4 separate regions of the Homo sapiens genome follow, and regions 2, 3 and 4 are each linked to region 1. The links are contacts of gene promoters, found by promoter capture Hi-C in blood cells and fetal thymus (Javierre and others, 2016). All regions are on one chromosome and are shown on one strand. Each heading gives the region's core, a stretch centred on a gene start or on the middle of the fragment in contact. The rest is flanking DNA. Distances are from core to core; before and after follow the strand shown.

What was found. Contacts are between HindIII fragments. The CHiCAGO score rates a contact against its expected background, and 5 or more counts as called.
Region 2: a fragment that was not itself captured here is called in contact with the fragment with the promoter of ATOSA in region 1 in 2 of 17 cell types (neutrophils and activated CD4 T cells); the score reaches 6.4 in neutrophils.
Region 3: a fragment that was not itself captured here is called in contact with the fragment with the promoter of ATOSA in region 1 in 3 of 17 cell types (M0 macrophages, M1 macrophages and M2 macrophages); the score reaches 7.6 in M0 macrophages.
Region 4: a fragment that was not itself captured here is called in contact with the fragment with the promoter of ATOSA in region 1 in 8 of 17 cell types (naive CD8 T cells, non-activated CD4 T cells, total CD8 T cells and 5 more); the score reaches 7.0 in naive CD8 T cells.

Annotation. Positions count from the first base shown.
Region 1 is chr15:52,677,233-52,683,829 of GRCh38, forward strand. It overlaps ATOSA (atos homolog A), which reads right to left and starts at 2,156. Exons shown (of 13, transcript NM_001385016.1): 1 at 1,596-2,156; 2 at 774-890. The coding sequence starts at 789. LOC105370821 (a long non-coding RNA gene) reads left to right here and starts at 2,373. Exons shown (of 4, transcript XR_932255.4): 1 at 2,373-2,461. RefSeq lists enhancers at 852-921, 1,052-1,191 and a silencer at 1,772-2,091. The HindIII fragment of the contact is 2,387 bases long and covers 416-2,802 here.
Region 2 is chr15:52,402,943-52,409,557 of GRCh38, forward strand. It overlaps MYO5A (myosin VA), which reads right to left. Exons shown (of 42, transcript NM_001382347.1): 7 at 5,117-5,198; 8 at 4,350-4,457; 9 at 2,345-2,451. Among named protein-coding and RNA genes, the nearest start is that of MYO5C, 110 kb to the left of the region's middle. The HindIII fragment of the contact is 4,811 bases long and covers 2,327-6,615 here.
Region 3 is chr15:52,355,372-52,362,523 of GRCh38, forward strand. MYO5A (myosin VA) reads right to left here. Exons shown (of 42, transcript NM_001382347.1): 25 at 4,597-4,710. Among named protein-coding and RNA genes, the nearest start is that of MYO5C, 63 kb to the left of the region's middle. The HindIII fragment of the contact is 952 bases long and covers 5,043-5,994 here.
Region 4 is chr15:52,337,837-52,345,213 of GRCh38, forward strand. It overlaps MYO5A (myosin VA), which reads right to left. Exons shown (of 42, transcript NM_001382347.1): 31 at 5,281-5,361; 32 at 2,360-2,558; 33 at 1-48. Among named protein-coding and RNA genes, the nearest start is that of MYO5C, 46 kb to the left of the region's middle. RefSeq lists an enhancer at 405-981. The HindIII fragment of the contact is 795 bases long and covers 5,132-5,926 here.

The DNA.
Region 1 (6,597 bases), core at 906-3,405:
CTACCAAATAAAATAATCCCCACTTCACAATGTTCCTTGGAATCAAACTCATATCTGACTGAAAAGCTCTCACTACTAACCACTACTATATTAACATCTTCTAAAATTGGTTCTTGCCATTAATCAGAAGACTGATAAAGAATTACCTTGAAGTCCTTGAAAAGCAGTGTATATATTATTCTTATAAATCCTGAAAATACAGGTTTAGAAAAGAAGTGACATTTACTTATCACCAGGGATTTCAGTGGCCCAAACTGTCCATATGCTGGTATATTGAATACTGGAGTACTCTGCAAACTTTTGGAGTTTGCTTAAAGCACAAAAATCAACTAATCAAAGTAGTAATAAAATAACAGTTGTCAACTCAAGCTTAAGTTTTCTCTTCATTTTATCAAGTTCACATTCAAGTTTAAAAAGCTTATGAACTTCTTGAAAGTTGAAGTTAGATTGACTACCTAAAAACGAGCAAGTACAACTCTAAAATGATACCTGTATTGTGGCAACAGATACAAATACCATTCTTTACTTTCATTTTGAGATACACTAGAATCTCTCTTGAAGCTAGTGCTTCAGAAGCACTTTTGTAAAAACGCTTAACCTTCTCTTCCATATGCCTTTCTCTACCTCACCAGCTGGAATCTGTCACAAAAACAGATAATCACATATGATACAGAAATAGTTGATCCTACTGCAGAATTAGGTTAACACTTCTAAATTGAGGCATAGAAAAGAAGGGGGTGGGGGAACAAGCCCTACTTAAACAAATCATTTACCTCGGTCTGGCTTCATTTTCACATCCAATTTTCGCCCAGAGTGCTGTGAAATGCACCTGTGGGTTCTTTCAACAGGCTCGCCGCTGATTCTACGGCTTCTGCTTCGCTTTCAAAATGCTGAAAGAGACAAAAATAAAATTAATCTGGCCCTATTCTAATACCCGGACCTTGCAAGTAAACTACTGTTAAGTTAGGCCTCTTCCTGGCACCAACTGCGGTGACAGCACCCTCGGCTGGTCTGAAAAAAGCAAAACTCTCTGCACCGCCTCCCCCATCTCCTCCGGATCGAGCACCCCCTTCCCTGCCTCTGTGCTCTCCAGGCCAATGTGTCCTTCTGACACAGTCTCTGAACCAAAACAGGATCTATTTATAACCTGGAGGTACAGGCAAGAAGAAGAAAAAGATTTGAGCAACACAAACTAACCCCTTCGTACAAAAACGCCTCTGGAAACAGAGGCACCTCCGCAGGGCTGGTATGGAAATTCTTCCACCTGGTGCCTGGGCGCAGCCAACTCTTCCAGTCCCCTGCGCCTCCCGAGCCCTCCGCCCGCCCCGCCGGGCCTCACCTGTGTAATTACCCTCTGGCTAGCCTTCCTGCGGCAACCGCGGCCAAGTTTACACAGAAACCCGAGTCACCTCCTCCCGCCCAGCCCCCAGCCCCAAACGAACTCTTCCGGGCTGTCCCGGGGCGACCCTACCAACTCCCAACCAGTCCTCCGCGGCCGGCTCCGGGGGAGGTGTTTACAGCCTGTGCTCGCCCCCTGCTCTGCACAACCCCTTCCGTCCCGCCGCGGCCCCGGATTTCCTTCAGCCCCGCCGCACCGAGCGCCGCGTCTGCCCCTCTCCCCGCTGGAGAGTTGTTTTCATGGCGCTCTCGAGCTGGCCGGCTCCTCCGCTCCCTCGGCCGACCTCTGCTGACTAACTCGCTCTCCTCTCCCGTCCCAATCCCGCCTCCTCTTGGCACTTCTCTCCACCGCTCGCCCAGCAGCTCACATCACACTCCCACCTCAGACCCCAGGCTCCGAGAGGCGCAGGGCCAGCGGGAGCGGAGTATGGAGCGCAGCGGCCCCCGCGGCTGCCTCAGGTGACCGTGGGGACCCGAGACGACCAGCCCGAAGCGGCTCCCCGGCGCCCCTGTGGCCATCCACCCGCGCCTCAGCCACCGCCTCGCTCCGCTCCCTGCGCTCAGCCCCTCCGCCCTGCCTGACTGGCACCCGAGCCCCGCGACCCCCGGGCTTCCCCCGCCCGTAGCCCCGGCCGGCCCTCTTGCCCAGCGCCTCTGCCAGCTCCTTGCCCGCCCGCTGTCTCTAGCTCTGGCGCCCCGGCTCCCCGTCCCCCTCGCTCGGCCAGTTCTTTCTCTGCTGTTTGCCCTGTCAAAACACTGCCTAGGTCACGTGTCCCAACAACAGCCAACCCACCCCGGTCGTCACTTCCTCCCCGGCGGCCTCCGCGGCCCTGGCGCCCGGTTACTATGGCAATGCCGCCGCTCGCCCCGGGGCGCTAGTTTGGGGCCGGGTTTTCGGTGCAGGTGCCCGGCGGGTGCGAGGGCGCTGGAGATGGCGGCTGGGAGACACCAGCAGAGTCCCGGAAGCCCGAGACGTCCCAGGCACTTCGGTTGCGCTCCCAGCCGGCAGAGGCGCGCCTGGATTCTGAGACCAGGAATCGGAGCTGCGCTATTAGAGCGCAGGGTAACTGGGGAGATGTCATCCAAAGGCCTGCCCCAGACGTGGAGGATAATTATAGTCGTCGTCTCCTCCTCCTCCTCCTCCTCCTCCTCCTCCTCCTCCTCCCCCCTCCCCCTCCTTCCCCCCCTCCTCCTCCTCCTCCTCCTCCTCCCGGGATGCTGGCACAGAGTTGTGATCGAGCCCCAAGTGGATTGCAGCGCATAATGGAACCCGGGTTTAATGTGACCGGGACGGGGGGTGGGCAGCTATGCGGGTCAGGGAGTGGGAGAATTTAAGAACAGGAAGCCCACCCCCACCCTAGATTTTCCCAAATCACTAAGGATTTTAGTAGGATTCAGAACCCAAGCTTCCAAGACACTCGCTGTGCTAAAAATAATCTTCATAACTTCTAAAACACTGACTCATGGGCAGGAGGACACTTTGACAGCATGTTATTGTTGGGGAGCTGTAATTTTGTTGTTGTGCTATAGCAATGTGACATGATGGCATTTCATGTTGTGATGTTGTCGTCATTTAAACACAAACAGATGACAGGAATCTGCTGTACTTAAAAAAAAACCCAATCCTAACAAGCGCTGCAGCTATTAGCTACTCAGTCTATAGACAAAGTACATATGGGGCATGAGCCCAAATGGAGACAAGTAAAAATTTGCAAGGCTCTTTGGTTTCATTAGAAAAAGTTTTTTTTTTAGATATAATTTTGCATAAAAGGATCACAGGAAAGTATTAGGACAAGTCTAAGGGGATTTTTTTTATTTGTGCCCTTCTGTTTTAAAATTTTTTTTACAATGAGTCTATTATTTTCACATCAGAAGAGTTTTATAAACTGCAAGATTGGCAGTTCCATTTTTTTGGCCTCAGGTAAAGTTCTTATGAAAAAGGCATGAAATATTTAAAAAGTAACATTTTCTAGTGCTTAGATATGTACAGTAAAATAACATGTACAACTGAAATTGTTAACCTTAACTCCACGATTGTATCTAATCAGAGCGGAGAGAACATTCAGGAGGGTAACATTTCATTTTCTCTGAAATGTTCTGGCATCATGACGATGAAACTGACAAATGGAAACAGTTCTTTAATCTATAAAATGCTACAAATGTTAAATCCCAGTGGATTTGACTTTGATATTATTGAATACTGTATTATGTAGTTTTTAAAAAATGAACTGAAGTTTTACTTGTTCTACAAGCACTTGGTAATGGGAGACAGAACAGTTACAGATAAGCCAAAAACCTAAATTTAGCACAACAGCTGGGACCAAATAACAGCTATTGTAAAAGGCTTACTGGGTGAACAGGCAGCAAAATCTGGTTTAGCTTCTTTCTTCCTCTATCTAATGCAAAAGAGGTAAAAAGACCAGGAAATGTTGAGAGCAGAAGCCAAGACTATTAGTGTGTAGCACAAACTATTCTCTTTTAAATAATTTTTAACAGCACTTGGGTAAATGATGATGTCAACATTTGTTAGACTAACCTGAAGTTTTTTTAAATTTAGAATCTTAAACCTGTTCAAAAATTTGAAATCATTATGGCAGCAGAAAAAGTATTTAAAAGGTGTATTTCTGACTCATTATTCAAATTGTTTCATTCCATAATATGCATTTACTGAATACTACCTGCTAGGCTCATACAAGTCTCTGAGAATGTAAAGGTCACCAAAACCAGATAGGGTCACTACTTTCAAGGAGCTTATAGTACTATTACAGTTACATGGCCCTAATCAAGTCACATTCTAACACCTTTGTTTCACCTATAAAAGTGAGGTGTTTAGACTCTGACAATAGTTATCGCTTTCTTTTATCCTATGATTATGTAACACATGTTCAGAGCGTTTGGAAATAATGACTTGAAATGGCAATTCACTCTAAGGTGCTCTGTTCACACCTCAGAGCACATAAACAGAACAAATGTTTCTAGTTCCTAGTTGGTGAAGGGTAAGGGTAAGCAAGGGAATCAAGATAGCTGGCAGGAACCTTACCCTCTTTTCATCTGATTTGCTTTCCATTTTGCTTTCCCCTAGGGTTTCAAAGCCGTATATGAGTAATTAACTTCAAAAAAAAGTTAACTCATCTTCAGCAACTCATCTTCATCCCCTCAACTTTTACAGATTTTGTTGAAATGGGTGGTGTATGATCAATCTGTAATGACTGTCTCTAAGTTCTTTTACTTATTAAGGTGATGAGGATAACTGGTTTGCTCACTTTATGAATACAAGGCTGTTACGATGACCAAAGTCATGGAACCAGTCCAGGCTACCAGGATGAGCTCCACCAGAGCAGGGATTGGTACCTTCTTCTTTCTTGTATCCCTAGCACTTAGTAAAGAACTGGATATAAAGTAGGAGCTCAATAAATATTAACCTATGTATTCTCTAATATGCTTTTCTTGTGCATGCCTGTAGTCTGCATGTCTAATACTGGCTGGCATTTTCTCCCTAGTGGGATAAAGGTAGAGTTGAGAAATTGGTGGGTAGCACAAATTTCATTTGTAAATGACACATTTTCATTATACTTTTGGGGCAATGTATATATTATATGTTGTCTCATAATAGTAGGAACCCATTGTGGGTTGAAATGTGTTCTCCCCTCAAAAAAAAAAAAATTGTGTTGCAGTCCTACTCCCATCCCCCATCTGTGAATGTGAACTTAGATATGTACAGTAATGAAGTTAAGATGAGGTGGATTATTAGGGTAGATTCCAAATCCAGTGACTAATGTCCTGATAAGAAGGAGAGGTTTGAAGGTAGAAGACACACAGGGAAGATGGCCATGTGACTAAGAAAAAGAATGGAGGTTCTGAATGGTTACTCAAACATGAAGATCTTTAATTCTGTAGAAGTTAACAGTAAATGAGTGAAAAATGTTAAGATATCTCTAGTATCTTAAAAGAACAACTCTATGACCCATAGCTAGAGGATAATCATGAATAAGTGGTTGAGAGTCAAATGAAGATACATTATTTTAAAGATGGTAATCAGTACATCTTATTTGCCATGAAATATTGTAGAAATAAAGATGAGTAGAATTAAAATGTATAAATAAATCTGTTCTTGCAAAGTTAAAAAGAAAAATGTACTTTTAGTACTTGTTGAAACAAGATGAAATGCAAGCTATCTTTTCCATATCTAAATTGTTTCTGATTATCCACTTAAATTCAGTACAGTTAATTTCTAAGAGAGAAAGATCATGGAGTCATTGCTAAGGCATTGGCTTCTGTAAACAACCTTCTACCTTCACATAAGTTGGTTGTCTGGTTTATTCTTTTTTGAGGTTCCTGTTTGTCTACCCTCTAAAACCACAGGTATAAGGAAGTAAAAATGTATTCTTTCTGGTCCCAGTCTGCGTAAGTGTCTTAGGGCTTAGAAATACAAGGGCCTCTAAACTTCAAGGTGGATAAACCTTTAATTAACCTGACAATTTTGCTGAGCTGCTGGAGGTCTCCGACCCACCAAGACTTAATGTCTTTTTAAAGAATAATAATGGCCGTTTTTTGTGACAGTAACTGTGCTCAGCATTTTACATATATATTTGATCCAAAGAGGGTGATAACTATTTCTCAGATTAGGAAATTGAGGCTCAGAGAAACAAGTAACTTTCCCAAAGCTATATTTAATAAGTAGAAGGCAGCCGCTTCCTGAATGGACTCATTTAATTTCCACTACAATATTCTGAAATAAGTTAAATAATTTCAAAATTTTCAAGTGGGGAAACTATGGCTCAGAAATGTTGAGAAGTGGTTCTGCATTTAGAATTTAAATTGGTTGATATACACTTAGGCTTAGTGCTTTAAGATATAAGCTCTAAATCAAACAGCTCTGGTTGATGTGTTATATGCACACCCCAAAGAGCAAATGGTCATGCTCAGATAATAGCAGCTGAAATTTCTTCAGCACTTAAGTCATAAGCACTATTCTGAATGATTTATATATTTATTAGTCCATTTAATACAACATCCCTATGAAATAGTATTATCCCTACCAAATACACAGAAAAGGGGAAGTTAAATAATTTGCCCAAGTTTAAGCAGTTAGGCAGTAGCAGAGTCAGGATTCACACCTAGTGAGCATGACTTGAGAGCATACGTTCTTACCCACTATCTGTTACTGGTCTCTTAGTTTCATTTTCCACCCAAACCCTG
Region 2 (6,615 bases), core at 3,482-5,981, 270 kb before region 1:
CTATCATCAAATCAACAAAGTTGACAAGCACCGGTTAGAAAATAAAAATCATAGAATTACAAGAACTGGATGGAAGGAACTTCTGGACATTATAAGTACTATTTCTCCAAGATGATATTAATAACTTCCAGACATCTCAAATAGGAAAACAGTACACTCAAATTTTAGGTAAGACTCATAATGAAGTGATATATGTGACATAACATTAGTCATGACTTTCTTGATTAGGAGAAGCTTGACATTTGGGGAAAGGTCACAAGGGCAAAGAGGAAAGATGGTGATGCAGAAATCAGAGTTCTTTTTAAAAAATCCAGTTTGTATACCAACATTCAGAGTAGTGTTATTCATAACAGCCAAAAGGTGAAACAACTCAAATATCCAACAATCAACCAGTGGATAAACAAAATATGGTATCTCCATATAATGGACTATTATTCAGCCGTAAAAAAGAATAAAGTATTGACACGTGCTACAACATGGATGGATTTTGAAAGAAGCCAGTCACGAAAAACCACATATTATATGATTCCATTTATATGAAATGTCCAGAACAGGCAAATCTATAGAGGCAGAAAACAGATTTATGGTTGCTTAGGGGTAGGGAAATAGACACATAGGTAACAATAAGTAAAGGGTACTGGGTTTCTTTTTGAGGTCACAGAAATATTTTAAACTGACTGTGGTGATGGTTGCACATATCTGTGAATGTACTAAAAGCCACTTAATGGTACACTTTAAATGAGTATGATATACGAATTATATCTCAACAAAGCTCTTTTTTAAAAGACTAGCAATGTTTCATTAGAAGAAATGAGGGTTTAAATTAGAATCATCATTTTGCCTTTTACAAAACCACCATTAGGAAAAGAGGCTGGGGGAGGGGAGGAGGAATCATGCATCTAAAATTAGGACCCATGGCTTAGGAAAATTACACCTCAAATATTCATAAAGAAAATCGTAAGGATCAAGCTTTCTGTAAACCAAACTGTCTGCCCATCTAGCTCTTGGCCCTTGGACTAATAAATAAGTTACAGGGCTGGATGTGGTGGCTCACACCTCACACCTATAATCCCAGCACTTTGGGAGGCCAAGGTGGGCGGATCATCTGAGGTCACGAGTTCAAGAGCAGCCTGGCCAACATGGCAAAACCCCATCTCTACTAAAAATAAAAAATTAGCTGGGCATGGTGGTGTACACCTGTGGTCCCAGCTACTCAGGAGGCTGAGGCAGAAGAATCGCCTGAACCCAGGAGGCGGAGGTTGCAGTGAGCCGAGATTGCATGCCTTTGCACTCCAGCCTGGGCGACAAGAGTGAAACTCCGTCTCAAAAAAAAAAAAAAAAAAAAAAAGTTATGGAACAAGTCTTCTCTTTAAATCATAAAGTCATTTATTTTATATTATATCATGTCTCACACATCTAATATAGTATCAAAGTACTATATCCAGAAAACACAAGAAATAGATTCTTTTCTTACAGGAGTAGAGAATCTGTTTTTACACAAGAGGCTATAGATCCAGAGAAAAAAGGCAACTAAGTGAGTTGAATAAACACCATTTAAATTAAGGCCTTAATTAAGAATACCACAATGAATAGCATGGCTCTATCCACAAGGACTTCAAATCCTAGTGGGTAAAGGCAAGCAGGAGAGACCTTTATAGAACAATGTGATTTGAGCTACAATAAAGGAAAGCAGAAGGGTGAGTGTGTATCTAAGAAGAGATGCTAGAGATCTGCCTGTGAGACGTGAGTAAGAGCTGGCTAGGGAAGAAGAGCAATGTATGTACCCCAGCAGGGAGAATCTGAGCAAAGCCAGGAGAGAGAAACAGCCTGGCATGGAAATGGCTGGATGTAGAGTGTGAGAAACAATGAGAAAGAAGCTCAATAGGAAGTCAGGGGTCAGTCATGAAGGCCCTTTCATGTCATATCATGCCAAGTAAGGTGTTGGGTCTGCTTCTGAAGGCAGTGGGGAGTCCTGAAACATTTCAGTAAGGGCATGATATGATCCCTAATAGCTTTAACTTCCATGAGTTTCTGATCTTGTGGGGCCACATCTGCGTTATAGTCACTAATCTCATCTATCCAACCCTCTCTCTTTCTCTCTCTCTCTGTCACACACACACACACACACACACACACACACACACACAATCACTATGCACCAGAGATTAGAATCCATATTTCTTTATTCTCAGTTTGAGATTCTCCTTTGGATAACATATGTCTTTGATAATTATGTTTCTGATAATATTGATAGAGAGACTTAAACTATATTGCTTCTTTAAACAATCTACAAATCTAAAACATAATTCAACTGCCATCCCACTAAAGCTTATTCTGAACTTACAGGTATTGTGCAGCTGTCTGCATCTCGGGATGTAAATCCAACATTGCCTAAGTGAAGGATGCCAGCAAGTATTCGGAAAATTCCCATTTGATGAGATTCACTAATTCCTGAAACAAGAGAGTGAATGAACAAGTGATTAATTTCAGAATAGAAACTAAACAATTACAGCAGACAATTTTAAGCCTATTGTTAATTCCTGAATATTGCCAGATGTTGTGCATATTATAATGTGTCATAGCTAACAACACTTTCATCTTTGTTGACATTAACACATTAGGCAGTTTAGCATCATGGATGGATAACATGGCTGCTGACTGTGGCTGATCTGGCTTGAGACCTGGCTCTGCTATGGACCTATCATCTCAAATGGACAGGTAGCTTCAGTATTCTATGCTTCCATTTTCTCATTTGAGATATGAAAATAATAGTGACTACTTCAAAGTATGTGAAGATTAAATGAGATTAAATGCACATAGCATACTTAATACACGACATGACACACAGTAAGTGCTAAACAAATTGTTGTCATCATTGTCACACACTGGGTTTAAAATTAATAGTATTACCATTTCTATTTATCTCTGCTCCAGATACAGCCCAATAAAGCTGTTACTTCTTAAGGCTGTTTAAAAAGTAATTATTTAATTACTTCTTTAAACTACAGACCAAGTATAAGTCAAAGAGACGCCAAGATTAGAAGCGTTTAGGCTGGTGCTATATCCCAGCCTGATGAGTATGCGTCCAAATACAGCATCAGAGCAGAACTTGAAGGATAAGGCAGGATGAGAAAGCTGGACAGCTTTCAGCTTTTATCAGATCTGGCTTCATTTTTAAATAACATAAGAATCTCCAGAAAATTAGCTATAATTACATGCAAATAGAAGCAGTGAAATTATTTCCAAATATGTAATCTTAGAAAGGGTAATTCAGTAATGACCCTATAATTAATGTTTTTTACCATCTCCTGCATTATGGCTTTTTCTTTTTTGTTTTTTTGACACACAGTCTCACTCTGTCACCCAGGCTGGAGTGCAGTGGTGTGATCTCAGCTCACTGCAAACTTTGTATGGCTTTTTCAAATTCACAAATTTACTATTTACAAACAGATTTAGCACGAGAAGAAATGCAGTGATTTTCAAACTTTTAATATGCATATGAATCACCAATAGATTTTGATAAAATGCAGATTATGTTTCAGTAGGTCTGAGAAGGGATTTGAGATTCTGCATTTCTAGCAAGGCCCACAATGGTCCTGGTCCACACTGTAATTAGCAGTGCTTTTAAATTAAGTTAACTCACCTGAGGGTACTACTCAAAATGCCATCATATGATTTTAGAGTTATCTATATTCTGAGGTTTTTTTTTTCTTTAAGTTGTAGATGACAAGTTCTAAAGATTAATTTATTCACATGAAGGCCCAACATTTTTTAAATCCCAGAAACAAGATAGTGACATCTGAGCTGCTTCAGAAATGTTGGAACAGAAAAAAAATGCTGGAATAAACTACATGTAATGGAATATTCTGTCATGATGCCAACTCAGCCACATTTCCCAGCCACAGAAAGATCCCCAAAACCAAACAAATAAACCAATAGCTCCTACAAAATGCGAGCTTGTAGAGGAGCCCGTTTCACTTAGCTTCAGGTTTCAGATTTTGTAAAAATTTAAGCAAAGAATTACAAGTAGCCCTCCCCTGATGCCCCAAATATATATTTTGAACAGTTTTATTGAAGGCTAATTTGCATACCATAAAATTCACCCATTCAATGATTTTTAGTAAATTTACAAAGTTGCACAACCATTACCACAATCTAATTCTAGAACAGTTCCATCATCCCAAAAAGAAATCTCCTGCCCATTTGCTGTCTAAATGTGTTCTATGTGGAATATTAAATCTTCTAGCAATACTTGCCACTTAATAAAAAGTCAAGCCAATATTCTAAACAAAGGTTGCTTGAGTAAAAAAGCTATTCCTCTTAAGAGCTCAAGAATAAAGTGACATTACCTAGCAAAGTGCAGGCCTGCCTAGTATGTGCCATCTCCTTTGCATCATCCACTCCTTCAATCACAGGACTGCCTCCTTGTTTTGTGTAATTAAAGTTATCTGCATTTCCTGTAATGAAGAAAAATAAAAATTTTCTGGTTTATGAAAAAGCCTTGCCTTCTAACCTTATGTCCACTCTGAATCAGAGGTGGTGATAGCACAGTTGAGTGTACAGCATCTAGAGTTTGACTGCCTGTGTTTTCAATTGTATTTTAATAAAAAATTAAAAATTAAATAAAATTTAATTAAATAAATGGGGTAAAATATTTATAGTTTATTTATGTTAATTGGTAAAATAAATAGTCCTTTCCTAAAGGTTTTATTCCAATCTACACACTAGAATAATTTCCTCAAATCCTTTACTCCCCTCATAAGAAACCCTACTGGCTTCTAACAAATCAACTCCTTTAATTTTTTTTTTCCTTTAATCAAAGCAAATATCAAACACATACAAAAGTAGAGAGACTAATAGAATGAGCCCCTAGGTACTCATTACTCATCTTAAACAGCCATCTAAAATCACCTCCAGGCCAATCCTGTTCCATTTATACAGCCACTTACTCCTCCTCTACCCCTATGGGTTATTTTGAAGCCAAGGGCTGACTTTTTATCATATTATCCATAAGTATTCCAACATGAGATAAGCTCCTTTTTAACAAGTAAATTTAGGAACTTGGAAATTAACAGAAAACAATACCAGAACAATAAATTTAATGCCATATTCATACCTAATCGTAGCATTTTAAATTCAGGTAACTTTGCTGAGGCACAAAGCTGATAGAAGATATGATAGTTTCTCTCCTCTTCTGCCTTCGAAATAAGAAGAGTTTTCAATTACAGCATTTTAATCTAAAATTCAGGGAATTCTATCATAAAATAAGATTTTAATATTTAATTATCTCAGTTGGTTAAATAAATTATACTTTCCTATATTTCCTAATACTTATTTCTGATTATTAAATCTTATGATTTATAGTCTATATGCATATGTATGAGTATGTGTGTGTTGCTCAAATTCAACATAAAGTATCGGATAGTAATGCTTTCTGAACTAGTGAACAGCTTGATATATGTCAACAATCATAAGATAATCAGTGCTTTTGGGGGAAACTAAAATCATTTTTTTTTTGCAATACTCAATACTATTTTCTAATGGTACCTCTTAGATTCACAGTCTTCCAAATGCTTTGAAAAAAGAATAATCCCATTCTTGCCATATTGTAGACTGGACCATCTACTGTGGTTATTTGTAGGAAAGTCACAAATGTACATCTTCTATATCATTTTAGTTTATACATTTTAAATCAATAACTGTTTTATAAAATAGAAAATAAATCACATATAAATTCTAAGATAATTTTTCAGTATTTCCTGAGAGTCTTTTCCACACATATATCTAAAAAATACAGTTGCAATAATATTGTTCATACACCTAATAGTTTATCACTATATCCTTCATTTTTACAGTATACTCAGTTGGCTAATGAATCGTATTAATAAGGCCAAGGTCAGGTTTGATGCCCACAGGGGGCTGATGTCTGGAAAAGAAAACCTATTATAGGGACAGAAGCCACTGAACAAATTACCAGTATACCAATGACCACAAGCATGATTAAACAGGAGACCAGGTGGTTCAGCACACAGAAACTAGAAAAGCCTGTGAGTCTGCAGAAATGCTTAGGTCCTCTTTGTACATAAAGGACAATACAAGTATGCCTTTTCTGATTGTGTGACTCATTTTGACAAGCCAAACATCCTTGACATTCTATATCACTGGAGACTGGGAAACTGCTAGAAATGGTTCAGTGTCTCTAAACAAGACAATAAGGATTGGGCTTTACCATTTTGTATTAAGCACTACTAGCCTTTGGTCACGTACTGACCAAGGACCATCTTTCCCCCCTGCTTACTCACTTACCTATCAATCAAACCTCTACTATTTGAACTCTAATATTTGAATCTTCCCTTAGATCTACCTCTGTTTCACCCATTCTTTCTTCTGGTTATCAAAGTAGACACTTTTCAAAAAAAACCTATAGAAATAGCCATCAGCATAGTAACACTGTTCTGTATGTACCTAGATATTAAATATAATACTTCATTTGTATTGCCTTACTATGCAAATCAAGTACTATATTTTAGGTGGCCACAAATCAGGCACAGCCCCAAAGTCAAAGCCAGAGCAACTTCAGACTGCTCAAATTCTCAGACACTTTCAAACCTATGA
Region 3 (7,152 bases), core at 4,269-6,768, 320 kb before region 1:
TTAGAATATTTACTGCCTCTTCAGAAAACAGTGAAGAGAGTTTAGCCCTCACTACTTTAACAAAACGCTGCTTGGTTAGGCTTGGCTGTGTCCCCACTAAGAAGAGACTGCTGAAATAGACATAAAGCCCAGCCTTGGCTCTGCAGATAGACCTGTGCTGCGCAACTTGGCTTTTTATTACAAATAAATAGTTATTATACTGTATTGTTTACATAGCATTTATATTGTCTTGGGTATTACAATATTCTATATTTGTCTTAGGTACTAAATAATGTTTTATTTAATTATATATTGTCTTAGGTATTAAATAATGCTATATTTACATAGCTTGTCTTAGGTATTATAAGTAATGTAGAGATGATTTAAAGAATATGGAAGGATGTGCATAGGTTATATGTAAATACTACTGCATTTTATATAAGAGACTTGAGCATCCTTAGATTTTGGTATTCATGAAAGTCCTGGAACCAATCCCCTGTGGAAACCGAGGGACGACTGTATAGTTCTTAATAAACTGAAGGATAACCTAATAACATTTTAAAAATGTGTCAACTGGTTCCAAAACAGAATCACAATGAGACCTACTAGGATAAATAAAGGTACACTAATTAAAGCTAAAAAGAATGGAAACAACTAACCATCATAATGGAAGTTGTGGATGCCATAATTGTTTTAACATGTTTACCTAAGGTTTTAATTTTTAATGAGGTAAGAAGAGAAATAATTGTACTATTAGAATTAATGTGGAAGATAAAGAGTCCCTTTGTTAGAGAGAGACAAGTGGGGCTGGAGGAGCAAGAGAATGGCAACAATCATTTATTTAACTAAATGGTCAAAGTATAATTCTTAAATGATTGGTAAATCTACCCAATTGTTTAAAAAGAGAATGTTTACTTTTGCTTTTCTGATATGAGAACAGAATAAGCTTTTACAGAAAATTTAGGAAATAAGAAAAGTTCAAAGAAGAAAAACACAGCCATAATCCTATCGCCACAGAAAAACTACAATTTTTTCTTAGTCTTTTTCTCTATGCATCTATAGATTTAAAGAATTAGAATAATAATGTCATTATAATTTTATATGGTCTTTTAAACTTGGCATTGCATTGTTTCCCAAATTTATAATATGATATTTCAATATATAGACAGGTGTGTCACCATTTGCTTAGCTATTATTTTACTGATGGGTGTTGAAGTTGTTTCTAATTTTTTGCTATTGGAATATTACTAAAATAAACACCCCAGTATATAAATATCTAAACATTAACTTCTTAAAAGTCCATTAAATTGGGCCAATTTAAACTTCTATCAGCAACCATCACCTTGCCTTCAACAGTAGTAACCGTTATAATTAAAAAAAAAAAAAAATTAGCTCAGTTAATAGACCAAAAGTGGCACTTCGCTGTTGATTTAATTTGCATTTCTTTGACTTTTTTTTTTTTTTTTTTATTTTCAGGAATTGTATATTAATTAGCTACCTTTGGTCTTTCATGAATTCAGAGTAGTGTTAAGTGTTATTCCAATTCAAAAACAACCTGAGAAGAATCAACTGAACAAAAAAGTAGGCATTTATAGGCTGTCAAAGTCATTTGTCCACAAATTAATTACACCTGAACTTTTTCTTTCTGCCTACTTTGTAATACTTAACAATTAGAAAAAGTTTTAGGTATATAATCTTTATAATAAAGTCTGTCCTGACTTAGCAGAACAGATATAACATCTTGCCTCAACACGAAATCACCACAGAATTTCATTCATATAAAAATTCTTCTCTATACGTCCCCCATAAAAATTAAGCGTAAAATACTTATATTGAAGCTTATTTACAATGTAAACATTCCATATTATATATTTTAATGTTTGTTCATTTATGAATGATGTACATGTCCCTGAAATTTTAAATTATTTAATCTTTTCTTACACTGTCATAGAACCTTTCATTCTAGAAATGAATATAATACTTCATTCATTATACCTAAAATATCACTTGGAAATCATTCCTTTGAGCCTTGAATGGGCACTTTTTGTTTAAAAGGAATCCTCTTATTAAAATGGGATGGTGTTTTGATAACTAGAACTAGCAAAAAAAAAAAAAAAAGAAAAAATGTGATGGGTTAACTCTTTAGACATTGGCTAATACTATATAAACAACTAGTTGATTGCTGGACAAGAGCAAAATTCTGTGGATAAGAATATTAAAATAGAAGGTGGAAGATCACAAAAGATTACATTTGAAAAATGCAAAATGACTCGAGGCATAAAGAGTGGTAATTATTTAAGAGTGCTCCCGATGGTACCCATTCTGAGCCCGGATGACACATCTAATTAAAGAGATGCTATCAAATTAAAGAGCTGTCCTCACTATACCCCATGAGCAAGAAGGAAGATTGGGCCATCTGTCACAGAGAAGTTTCTGAGGTTTTGTTTCGCTTTTTGCCTTAGTAAGGACTTTGTCACCCAGGGCTTTTCTAAGACAGCGAAGCTTTTTAACTGACCTAAAAAATAACACTAGTCTCTCATCTGAGGAAAATCAAAATAACTGAATTTATTCACAAAATTACCACCACTACAGGCCTGGCAGTCATTCTGAAATAACTCCTAATGATAGCTGAGAAAGTTCTGGTGACCCTTCCCAGAGGTGAAAGGTGTGAGAAAGCTTGACAGCAGAAGCAGAACAGGGATCATCAGTCAAGGGCTCCTAGAAGAGGTGCACACCAAGCAGGAGGAGCACTGGTTCCAAAGCAATGTCATCCCAGCCCATGAAGATCGGCAAGCGTGGGAGGGCTGCAAAACAAGTGGGACTGGCAGGCGAATTCTCCACAGAGCTACAGACTGGTTTCCGGCAAGCACACCCTTTTTATCATGGCTTCCCCCTACCAGCAGAGCTGCTAAAGTGGTACTACACTGGAATGGGCAGCTTGTAAATGTACTTCCCTCCGACTATTGCAAGTGAGTACTCCCACTGAGATCAACAGGATGTAATCCTAAAACCTTCCTATCTACTGAAGGCTCAGAAGTCCTAATTTTTAAATCTTCAAAGTCTAACTTTGTGGTATTCTCCAAAGATGGCACCAATGATTCTTCTCAACATACAAGTATTTCCTCCCAACAAGAGATGGAATCTATCCCCTTTGCCTTGAATCTGGGCTGACCTTGTGATTTTCTTTGATCAGAATGCAGCAGAACTAACACTGGGCCAGTTCTGGGCCTAGCTCTAAGAGGCCTGGCATCTTTTAGTCTGTCACTCTTAGAACCCACCTACCTGCTGCTGAACAGAGGCTACATGGAGAGGCCCAGGGAAGAGAAGCAAGCACTCTACAGAATGCAGCTACATGAGGCACTCCGACCACCACCACATGGAACAGAAGAACTCCCCAGTCAAATCCCACAGAATTATGAGTAATAATAAATTACTGTTTTTTAAAAAAAAAACACTAAAACTTGAGATCATTTATTACATAGCAATAGATAACTGGAAAAACCTCTATCCTGCTATATCCTGGCCATACTGTTATATCCATGGGCCCCAGCCAATGTTAGCTATAGATAGAAAAGGGATTGGAGAGTTGCAGTACAGAATCCCTGGATGGAAGTCAGTAGAATATAATGGCTTAAGAACATGAATTCTAAAGAGACAAGCCTCAGTTAGTATGCTGGATCTACCATTTATAAGCTGTGAACCTGGACAAATTACTTAGCCTTCTTGTATGTATGATTCCAATGATATGACATTCCAACTATGTAACATTTTTCTTCAAAATTAACAGAATGAGATGGCAGAAACTTCATTCTTAAGTAGAACTAAGACAAGAAAGGAAAGAATCACTCAATTTCTCTAGCTATTCTACCAGAAGCAGTCTATTTCTGATTTGGCCATTTTCAAAAAATATAATATAAAAATAGGACAGTTGTGCCTGAATTACCCATTATTGAAACTATATCATATTTTAAAAGATCTTAGAATTGGTTGGGAATAATCTAACTAAAAGTCACTATACTCTTGGAGTTACAGTAATACATCATTTTGGTTTCATACCACAAAACACAAAACATTAAAGCAGATTTCTAAACTATTTTCCATGCATTTTGTAGAAGAAAGTTACATTGGTAAAAACTGGCATAAAATAGAGGCATCAGTTTTGCTAAACTCTGGGGCACTGGTGTTTATAATATTCAAGGACAAAGGGCTTACTTTAAAAATAATTTACCTCTGTCTACAGCGGTGGTCCACAGATATAAAGTAAATAAATAATAAGTAAAAATAAAATAATTTACCTCAGTCTGAAATAAATTCCTGTAAACATATCATGTTAGGGGTAAAGAGAATTATAAAAATAAAATCTCACCATCAAAATTGCATTAAAAATTAAAATTAAAATTTGTATTGACAAAAAAATGCAATAGGTATGTATGTACACAGCACTTAAGTATACAAAAATGTAAATAAGTTTGTATCTACAAGTCACTTATGAAGAATAAATGATTCAAACAAATACTATGTTTATGGCCAATTGGAGTCTGCTTTGCAATGGAAATGTTCCTTGTTAACAACAGCATGCTCATATCCTACTTTCAGTGACAGATGTCTAAACTGTACCTCTGTCCTTGATGGAATGTCTTCCATTTCTGCAATTTCAGAGCTAAAGATATATTCAGACTCGTTGCTGCTGTGGGTGGAGTCTGTTCTCTTGTGTCCAGGCTTAGGCACATGCTGCAAGGCAAATAACCCAGGTATAATTAATGCAACATAATTAGTCTAGGCATAGTTAAGACAGCATCCACCTTGACTTGGTTCTTATCCCTACTTCCTGACTTGTATTGGTGCCCAAGTGATTTGTTCCATATTGTTTTGACCAAATAATTACAAAAAGGTCACCGCTTCAAAGAAAAAGGTACACTGGCATGACAGGACAAGAACAGTTGCAAAACCAAATGCCCAAATGAAAACCACTTCTGATTATTAGTCGAGTCCCCTTTGGGTGTTGAAAGCTTTGAGCGGTCAGTCACACTGGGTGAAGCAGTGCTCAGTGAAGCACTGGGTGAAGCTTCCAAGCACTGACTTTTAGTGCCATAATCAAATAAAACTTACAAAAACCTCATAAAATATATTGAAATGGCATGCACAATCATTTTACTGCATGGTAACTAGGCATAAATGGTTTAAAAGAAAGATGAAGGAGTTCACACAGGCAGCTCTAACTTCTGTCACTTTAATACGTGAAGTTAAATCTTTGGAGTGAGCAGTGGGCAGGATGGACAGTACACGGGAGGTAAGAAAGCTGCTCTAGTAATCCTCTGAAGAGCCCTCGGTTATTACCTCAGGGCATCCAGGTGGCATTTTTATGACATGTAATACCTAGGAAATTAGTGTTGAGAAAGTTCAAGAGGAATAGAAAAGTTTAGCAACGACACACCCTTCCCTCCTGTAGGAGAAGGGGTTAGAGAATAACTTGAGGGAAGAAGGAATTAAAAGGCTGGGCTCTTAGCATGTCCCCAGCAGGAGAGGTGGAAAAGATCCAGTGGCTTAATCTTGCAGTGTTACAGTCCTGAGGGCTTCACAAAGGCCTCTGAGAGCTTTCTCATCTGTCCAGTTTTCTTTGTACCTTTCCCCAGCTGCTGGAAAAGAGCTAGAAGCCACAAAGAGCTTCTTTGTCTCTTCCCTTCCAACACCCAGGCTTATGGAGAGCAGACTCATCCAGAGGCACGTAAAAGTCTCCCAGGCCAACCCAACCTGTACTGCAATGTGAAGGGAAGATCCAAGAACACCAGCACCTCTGAAACGATCCAGAAGCTGGGGTGCACACTAAAGGGGACAATCATCACACATGAAGTCAAAGGCACTCAAATTCACTGTCTGTTTACAGACACAGGCACTCTTGCTTAAAGTTTCCAGCCCAAGCCCACAGTTGTAGGAATGGCATTTATTTAATAAACTGGTTGTATCACTAAGAAAACCAGGTAGTCCAGATAAACACCAGGACAAAGATTTTTAATAAGCTTATTAAAAATGAGAGAGATCCCTGTCTTCCCACATATGTCTATCATTATACAAGGAATACCTTAAGGCATTAATAGAAGCAACATTGCTTTTTGCTATTTAATGTAACTTTTGGATACAGGGCAGTGATTAAGTGCTCTGGATCTGAAACGAGAGAGAGTTAGGCAGGAATACCAGCTCTTCCACTAGCTGGTATTTTCATCATCAGGAAAAAAAGGGTACTAATTTCTATCTCATAGGGTCTGTGTGAGGATTAAATAAGAGTGTGGAAGTAAAGAGTTTGGCTTGGCATAACAAGCATTCAATGAATGTTAACTTCTGCTGCTGTGATTGTTAGGAGATTGCAGTGATTCAGCAACTTCCTTGTTGGTAACTTTTCAGTTCTCTGTTTTTAGGATTTTGTTCCCCCGTTTATACGTTTTTCAATTACAAGGATATATATTTGACTGGATCATCACGTTCTCCTTCAAGATCTGCACCTCCCTCCTCTTCTGCTCCTGATTTCTCCCATGATTCCTTCTTTTCCAGAACATGTTTTATCCCTTTGTCAAGACTAACGACCCCATGATTGACATGCTGGTTTCCCTCCCCTCTCTGGAATTAATTTATCTTTAAACACTTCATAAACCTGGATGCCCATGCCTCATGATCTTTTCATCATTGGCTTGAAACTCCTTAGCCCTGGATTGGTCCTTCCTCTTTGCCTCTGCCCCTATATTCCCTGGACAACCGAATGTTCTTGGAGAAAAATGCTACAGTACTTCTTGTACTAGGGCCAACAACTCTAGAGGCTGGCAATGAGTGACACTATTAGTGTTCTTTGGCCCATGTATCACATAGGTTATGGGAAGCGCTGGAGGCAGTGTATCAAGTCCCCTCCCTAGAGTTTCCTCCATTCATATGACGACTCTGTTTACAACCAAATGCTTCATTAGCTCTGGATTGAAGCAGTGAGAGTGTCATTTACAGAACAGCGTCAGTCTAATATTAGTCAAGTACTCATCTGTTAGCTGTTTAGTTGTACCTAAACATTAAAATAAGATATTGTCACTAATATTTTAATTGTCATGGGTTAAAAGATCAAGTTTTTTATTCTCTGCAATTCTGGGCAAATATTTTCTGCAAAAACTGTCATCTTGATTATATCTGGAGCTA
Region 4 (7,377 bases), core at 4,279-6,778, 340 kb before region 1:
ATATGATTGATACTTCTTAGGGTCATCTGCATATAATTCCTCAAAATACTGAAAAAACAGGCACAATGGATATTTGTTTTTGTCTGTGTGTTTGAGGGAAATGCTATCTTTCAGCAAAATCAATTTTAAAATATTTTAAAATACAAATAGTGAAACTATATATACTTGAAAGGCTCTGATTTGTCACCTTCCATTACCCTTTTATCTTTCTAGTATAGATTATTCTAATTACATATGTACAGATGTTTCTTGTGTGAACAAAGGAAAGAGGCTGTGGCCAGGATGCCATCACTTAGCAGGCCCAGATAAGGCTGTCATTTCCCTCCTCCAACCTCCTGCCTTTTTACTCCCAGCCTCCCCAACACATGATGCTCACAACTTGCTGCACTTTTTTTTTTTTTTTTTTGCCGCCAGCAGCAGTGGCAAGAATAGGGGAGGTAAATATAATAAAAGTGAGAATAATAGCAATGTTAGCTTGTGAAGCTGGAGAGGCTGGTGGGAAGCTGTGCATCTTCCTTCGCTGAAAGACAGCACGGGGGAGGCCTGTGAAGCCTGTTCACTAGATGAGGTAGAAAAATCATTTTTGTGTTTTGTGTTGGTGGTAGGTAGGTGGGCAAGGTAGAGTTTCAAGAGCACTAAGCCCAGGTCTCCTGCTGGGCTTTAATATCCTACTCAAGTGTTTCTTATAGAAATGCACAATTAAGATTGAGAAAACAATGATTTTGAAAAAGTCTATCATTTCCTGTACTTATGTTTGAATCCATCCTCCTGAATTAGTAGTCAGTGTGATGGCAGGAGAAGCAGCTGACCTACAAAAGGTTTTCCCCAAACTCAAATTCATTAACTGGGCTCTATTAGCTTAGAATATAGGGGCTTAGTCTATTTTTTGTATTAGCTATGAAAAATTGCCAAAAAAATTAATATTGCAAACAAGGTTGCAAGAGAAATGTCTGACCAACTTAGTGAAAAAACCCTGGAAATCTGCCACCCAGAAGCATCTTTATTTCACGATTTCACCTTGTATTTTAAAACAATAATTTAAAGCACAGAACTTGTATGCCAATCAATCAACTTATTATATTATTCAGTATATTTGGTAATACTTAGTCATCAAAGCATTGTTAGTTTAATTTAAGCAACAGTATACTTGAGCTTTGTAAAATAACACTTCAAAAAATATTTCATGATTCAGAAAATTTTCCCCACAAATTAGTGAGATGTCAATCACTTTGGAAAGAGCCCACACACTGCCCCCACCCTCCTCCCTCATTCCCATGGTGGAGCCTCATACAGACAGACTGTGAAAAAGAATACCTTTGCGTTTTGCTTCTAATTCATATAAAAGATGGTTGAATAAATGACACTAGAAAACTGTTTGTAATGTAAATTATCACAAATGGAGTAATGGAGGGATAATTCAGATTGTTAAATCTTCAGAGAAAATTCATACTATTTTATTATAGGTCATTAAAAATGTTAATTTAAAAAAGACACAAATCACCACCAATCCTAAACAATTTTTCTCAAAATCGGGCTAGCACTACAATATAGACTTTATATAGAAATATGAAATTATCACTTTTTAAGGATTTTTAATATAGTAAATATATTTGTCAAAAAACTGTAAATCAGTAATAAAAGTTATTATGTGACTGAGAAATATTTTAGAAAATTTTTTTGGCAAAAGAAAAAAAAAAAGGAACAAGGCAAAAAAAAGAAAAGAAAACAGTCAGACTCCATGCCAGGGTTTAGAATCTGACAAGGAAAAAGACAATTTCCTCACTTGTTATACAAGTTCTGTTTAAAAGAACAGAAAATATGTAAACCTGAATCCTAACACACACCTCCCTGACCTGGGAGCTCCATCCAACATCAACCAAAAACCCCGGCTTAGTTTTGCCAACCGCCTTTCTCAACCTCAACTCTAACCCTACTTGTCTGCTAGAGGTGGAGCCTGGGATGGCCTCAGTGGCTGCTTGGGGACCAAAGGTAAAGGAAGCCTGTCCCCAGTCTCAGTTGTGACAATCACATAATAAACCTAGGATGGCAGAGGATCTGCAGCTGAAATGGAGGAAGCAGATCACCTGCCATCAAAAGCCCAGCCTGCACCCAGGTGGTTGTCTGCCTCCAGGGCAGGTCTAAGAGCACGCAGCCCTCCGTGATAAAGAGAACCTGTGCCTTCTTCCTTCCTACCAAAATATTTGTATTTTCCTTACTCTGTCTCTGCTGGAGTAAGAGGGGTAACAAGTACAGAGGGGTGAGTTTTTCCCAGCAAGAAAAACCCGTGTTTGATCAAAAAGAAACTAGACTGTCGGGCAGGCTAGGTTAAGAAGCATGTGGACCCGGCAGCTCTCCTTACCAAGTTTTCGTTGGTCAGCCGGGTGATCTCGTGCTGCAGGCTGGCCTCAATGCGGGCCTCTGGGGGCAGCTGCAGGTTCTGGGCCAGCAGCTGCTGCTGTCGGTTGTTCTCCTCCTTCAGGCTCTGGATCTCCCCACGGAGGGCCTCGGCCTCATTCTCATGGCTCCTCTTCTGTGACTGCAGCTGGGATTCCAGGAGCCTGCGGAGAGGACACATGGGTCGGAAGGGGAGACGACACCCCGAGTTGCTGCCTAACGGGTGTAAGGCATCGTGTTCACTTGCAAGAGTAGGAAAAGCAGATATTCTTTAGTATCTGTGTTATCTTCTGACTTGATTAAAGTCAAGAAACTAAAACAAGAAGCAGAAATAGAAACGGGTGCTCTCACATTTGTGTCTTTCTGCATTATATAAAGTTCTCAGAGGCCCTAAGAAACAGGAGAGTTTTAGTTCTCTTGAAAGGTTCATAGGAGGCCGGGTGTGGTGGCTCACGCCTGTAATCTCAGCACTTTGGGAGGCTGAGGCAGGCGGATCACCTGAGATGAGGAGTTTAAGACCAGCCTGGCCAACATAGCGAAACCCCATCTCTACTAAAAATACAAAAAATTAGTCAGGCGTGTTGGGGCATGCCTTTTGTCCCAGCTACTCAGGAGGCTGAGGCAGGAGAACTGGTTGAACCCAGGAGGCAAAGGTTGCAGTGAGCTGAGATTGCACCATTGCACTCCAGCCTGGGCAACAAACAAGAGCAAAACTTCGTCTCAAAAAAAAAAAAAGAGGGTCATAGGAAATGAGGATGTAAAAAAAAAAATCAATTGAAAAAAACAGCTTTAATTTGCCTTGCATTTGCATTTATAAATTAGCATTTAAATTGGCAAAGACAGTACACCTTTGCCACAAAACAACTCTGCACTATAAAGGCCAACATTATAAACTTCCAAATTAACTAAATGTGCCTTCAGAACTACAGTTACTAATTCCAGGCAGAGGGAATTATATTCTACTCCTATTCTGAAAGACAGAAAGGCTGGAACACCACTCCAGCCTTATATATACAGATTTACCCGAATCCACACAAATAGTTCTGAAATTTCCTATATATATTTTAGATCTGTCATCTTCTCTCTCCGCATAAACTTACATATCAGAAACAGAATCCTAACAAGATGTGGTTTTAGAACACAAATATTAATAGGACCAAAAAAGTGGTTATTGCTTTTCCAAGCAAACATACAGCCAGCTGTGCCCACAGAGCAGACCAGGCATTGGCAGTGAGAACACCAGAGTCAGAGCATCCTCCCTTTGCCACGCACCCCTGCTTCTACAGTCACTCTCTTCCAAATGCAAAGTTATGGTTAAGAACTAACTAATGTGAAGAAAGAAAAGACATTCTTTTATTCCAGTCCCTTGGTTGCCAACTGCTGGGTAAAACTTAATGATGCCATTGCAAGCAAACTGTTAACAGTGGACTAAAAATATTTAGTGATTAAAACATTTCAAAAAGATCTGCAGCAATAACACCCCAAAGTTAATGACAAGCGTTAATGATGAGAACAAAGCAGAATAAGCAGAAGCCCCTTGAACAAACATTTGAGTGTTTTAAAAATTTAATCACTAAAATAGAATTTTAATGAGATTTTAAAGACAAATATCACTAGAGCAGATGAATGTCTGTGTTAGAAAGGTGCTGCTGTTTCAATTTTATTTTCTCTCCTCTGAACATATTTAACGGGTTGAATTTGGGTAATTATTCTGAGCTATAGCAATGCAGAAAACTCTCCTGATTTGCTGTTTCACAAATGTGAATTTCATAATAACCACACAGAGTGCCAAATCATGCATTTCATCTTGCTTTTAGACAGCATGATAATAATATATAAGAAGGTAGGCTGGGCGCAGTACCTCAAATCTGTAATCCCAACACTTTGGGAGGCCGAGGCAGGATTGTTTGAGCCCAGGAGTTTGACACCAGCCTGGGCAACCAAGTGAAACCCTGTCTCTACAAAAAATAAAAAAATTAGCTGAGTGTGGTGGCACATGCTTGTGACAGTCCCAGTTACTCAGGAGGCTGAGGCAGGAGGATCGTTTGAGCCCAGGAGGTCAAGGCTGAATTAAGCCGTGATCATGCTACTGCACTCAAGCCTGGGTGACAGAGCAAGACCCTGTGTCAAAAAAAAGAAAAGAAAAATGTAGCCACATTGCCATAGACACATATATCCTGTAGATCTATCTATAGGATATGAGAAGCCACTGTCTCAGTAATAAATCTTAATCTCTCCCCCAATAGTTTGTGCCCTAATTGAAAGATTATGTTTTTCTTTTAACTCCTGGGAGAGAGAGATTCACAAATTTTAGTGTCTGAAGGGAAGTGTCTTATATTCACCACCATTCAATTTTAGCTTTAATAGTATCTTGTAGTGAAGGTTTTTAAAGAAGGTGTTTGGACCGGGTGTGGTGGCTGACGCCTGTAATCCCAATACTTTGAGAGGCTCAGGTGGGCGCATCACCTGAGGTCAGGAGTTCGAGACCAGCCTGGCCAACATGGTGAAACCCCGTCTCTACTAAAAATACAGAAAATTAGTCAGGCATGTTGGTGCACGCCTGTAATCCCAGCTACTCAGGAGGCTGAGGCAGGACAATTGCTTGAACCCAGGAGGCAGAGGTTGCAGTGAGCTGAGATCGCACCACTGCACTCCAGCCTAGGCAACAGAGTGAGACTCCGTCTAAAAAAGAAAAAAAAAAAAGGTGTTTGGCTGAATGTTCTCAGTTTTACTGAAAAGCTTTGAACAAATAACACAATTACTAACACTAATTTACCCAAGAAGACAATCAATGCACAAGAAATACAGGGGTGAAAGTCAGGAGGTCACTGTTAGTAAGAAAAACAACAAATTAATAACATTCCATTTTGAGGAGACAAATATAACCTGTTGGCTTGTTTTAACCCTTCATAAACCAGCCACAGCTCTCCATCCTCATTCAACTCATGGTAATCCAGAGCAGATGATCTTCCATGCAAAAGGAACAACAATGCAAAACACAAAAGGATACAGGATGCTGATGAGGTGACGATGGTCAACAGCAGCATGCAGTATTTCAACATTTTATAAGTTTGTTTTTATTCATTATGACAACTTTAAGACATTACCACAAAAATTATTTTTGGTTAATTTTTAAAAATGAGTAACATGTAGCATCACATGTAAATGGATAGAAATTAAAGCAAAATAATCAAGGATGTAGAGCTACTTTACCTGCAAAATAAGAAATGACTGGAAGGTGAGAAAGAGGTTCTGTTTTTGATGTTTTATTCAGCTAGCAAAGTGATCTAATACATCACATATTGTATTAGAGGTTATGACACATATAGAACAAAAACTTCAGCTACTGTCTTTGTGTGGCAAACTTCATAATATTTTTCAAGATGAATTTTTAAGTCCTCTAGGTAGGAACGTTTTTAGCTTAATAAAACCTAATTTCCCACATTAAAAAACCAGTTTTAAAAATTCTTATAGCAGTAACATAAATCAGAACATGTCCAAGGTTCTCAGCTTTTATGACATGATTTTTAAAAGCTTTTTTGTGTCAAAAATTAATTGTATGCCTGGAAAAACTGCTATATTAGAGATGTATCACATCTTATTAAAAACGTATAATTAGTAATGATAATGTTAGTAATCATTTATTTTCCACTTAGAATATAAAAATAATATTTTTTGAGTGTTTGCTCAGTGTCAGATGCTGTTCTACATTCTTTCCACATGTACTAATTCAGTTTCCCCAGTAACCCAACAAGTCATTTGCCACATTGCAGAGGAAGACGCAGAGGCTTGGAAGTAAGATACCCATAGAGGTTACACAGCTGGTAAGTAGTGGATCCCAGCACTGACTCTGGAGTCCAGGTTCTTACTCCTGCTATATTGTTGTTATGTTTACATAACCCAAATTCCAGGCATTGTCTTCTACTTTACATCTAGAGAGTTCATATCTCTCTAGAGAATTCACCTATTTACACGGTTTCCATTGTATTATTATACTCTGATGACTTCAAAATTTCTATCTCAGTACACACATCTCTCCTGTCTACAGATTTATATACTCAACTGCCTAATAGATTTCTTTCTCTGGATGTTTTCCTGGCTCCTTAAATCCATATGTATAAATCTACTGATCATCTTCACTGTGCATTTCCCCACACTCCAGTCCCACGATCACAAAACGGTATCACCACACCTAACCAAGATAGCAGAAACCACGGAGTCACCTTCAGGCTTCTCCATCCCTCGCCCACACATTCAATAAACCAAACAGCTTTCTGACTTCGTCTTCTTATGTATCTTTCAAAACGTCCCATTTCTGTCAATCCTAACTGCCACCAGCCAAGCCCAAGTCACCATAATCACTGGGTTACAGGAATACTCTCTGGCCTTTATGCTTCCAATTTTGTTCTACTGCAGTCTATTCTCTAACATAACAGCCAGGGCTAGCTTTCCAAAAATCAAATCTCATCACACCATTCTCCTACTTAACACCTTTCAGAGGATTCCATTATCTTTGGAATAAAGTCCAAACCCTCTCAGCTGTCTCCCCAGCAGCCTATAATCTCAGTGAGAGTAGGAACCGCATTTATCTTGCTTATTACTGTATTCCCAGTATGTGGCACAAGGCCTGGCATGAAGTAGGCACACTGGTGATAGAATAGCTAAGTGGATGGAAGAACATTGTGATACAATACAGTTCTTTCTATATTAACACATTCTTAGATATAACATATGTTTATAATTTAAACTGATAAATTAAAATTTAAGTATAACCAAATACTTTTATAAGCATTCTCCACCCTTGTCCATAAAAGAAGATAAGAAGCACAGTCATCCTTCAATATCCATTGGGTTCCAGGTCCTCCCTTGGATAGCAAGATCCACAGACGTTCGAATCCCTTATATAAAATTTGCATACTATTTGCATATAACCATGTACATCCTCCGTACACTTTAAATCATCTCTAGATTACTTATAATACC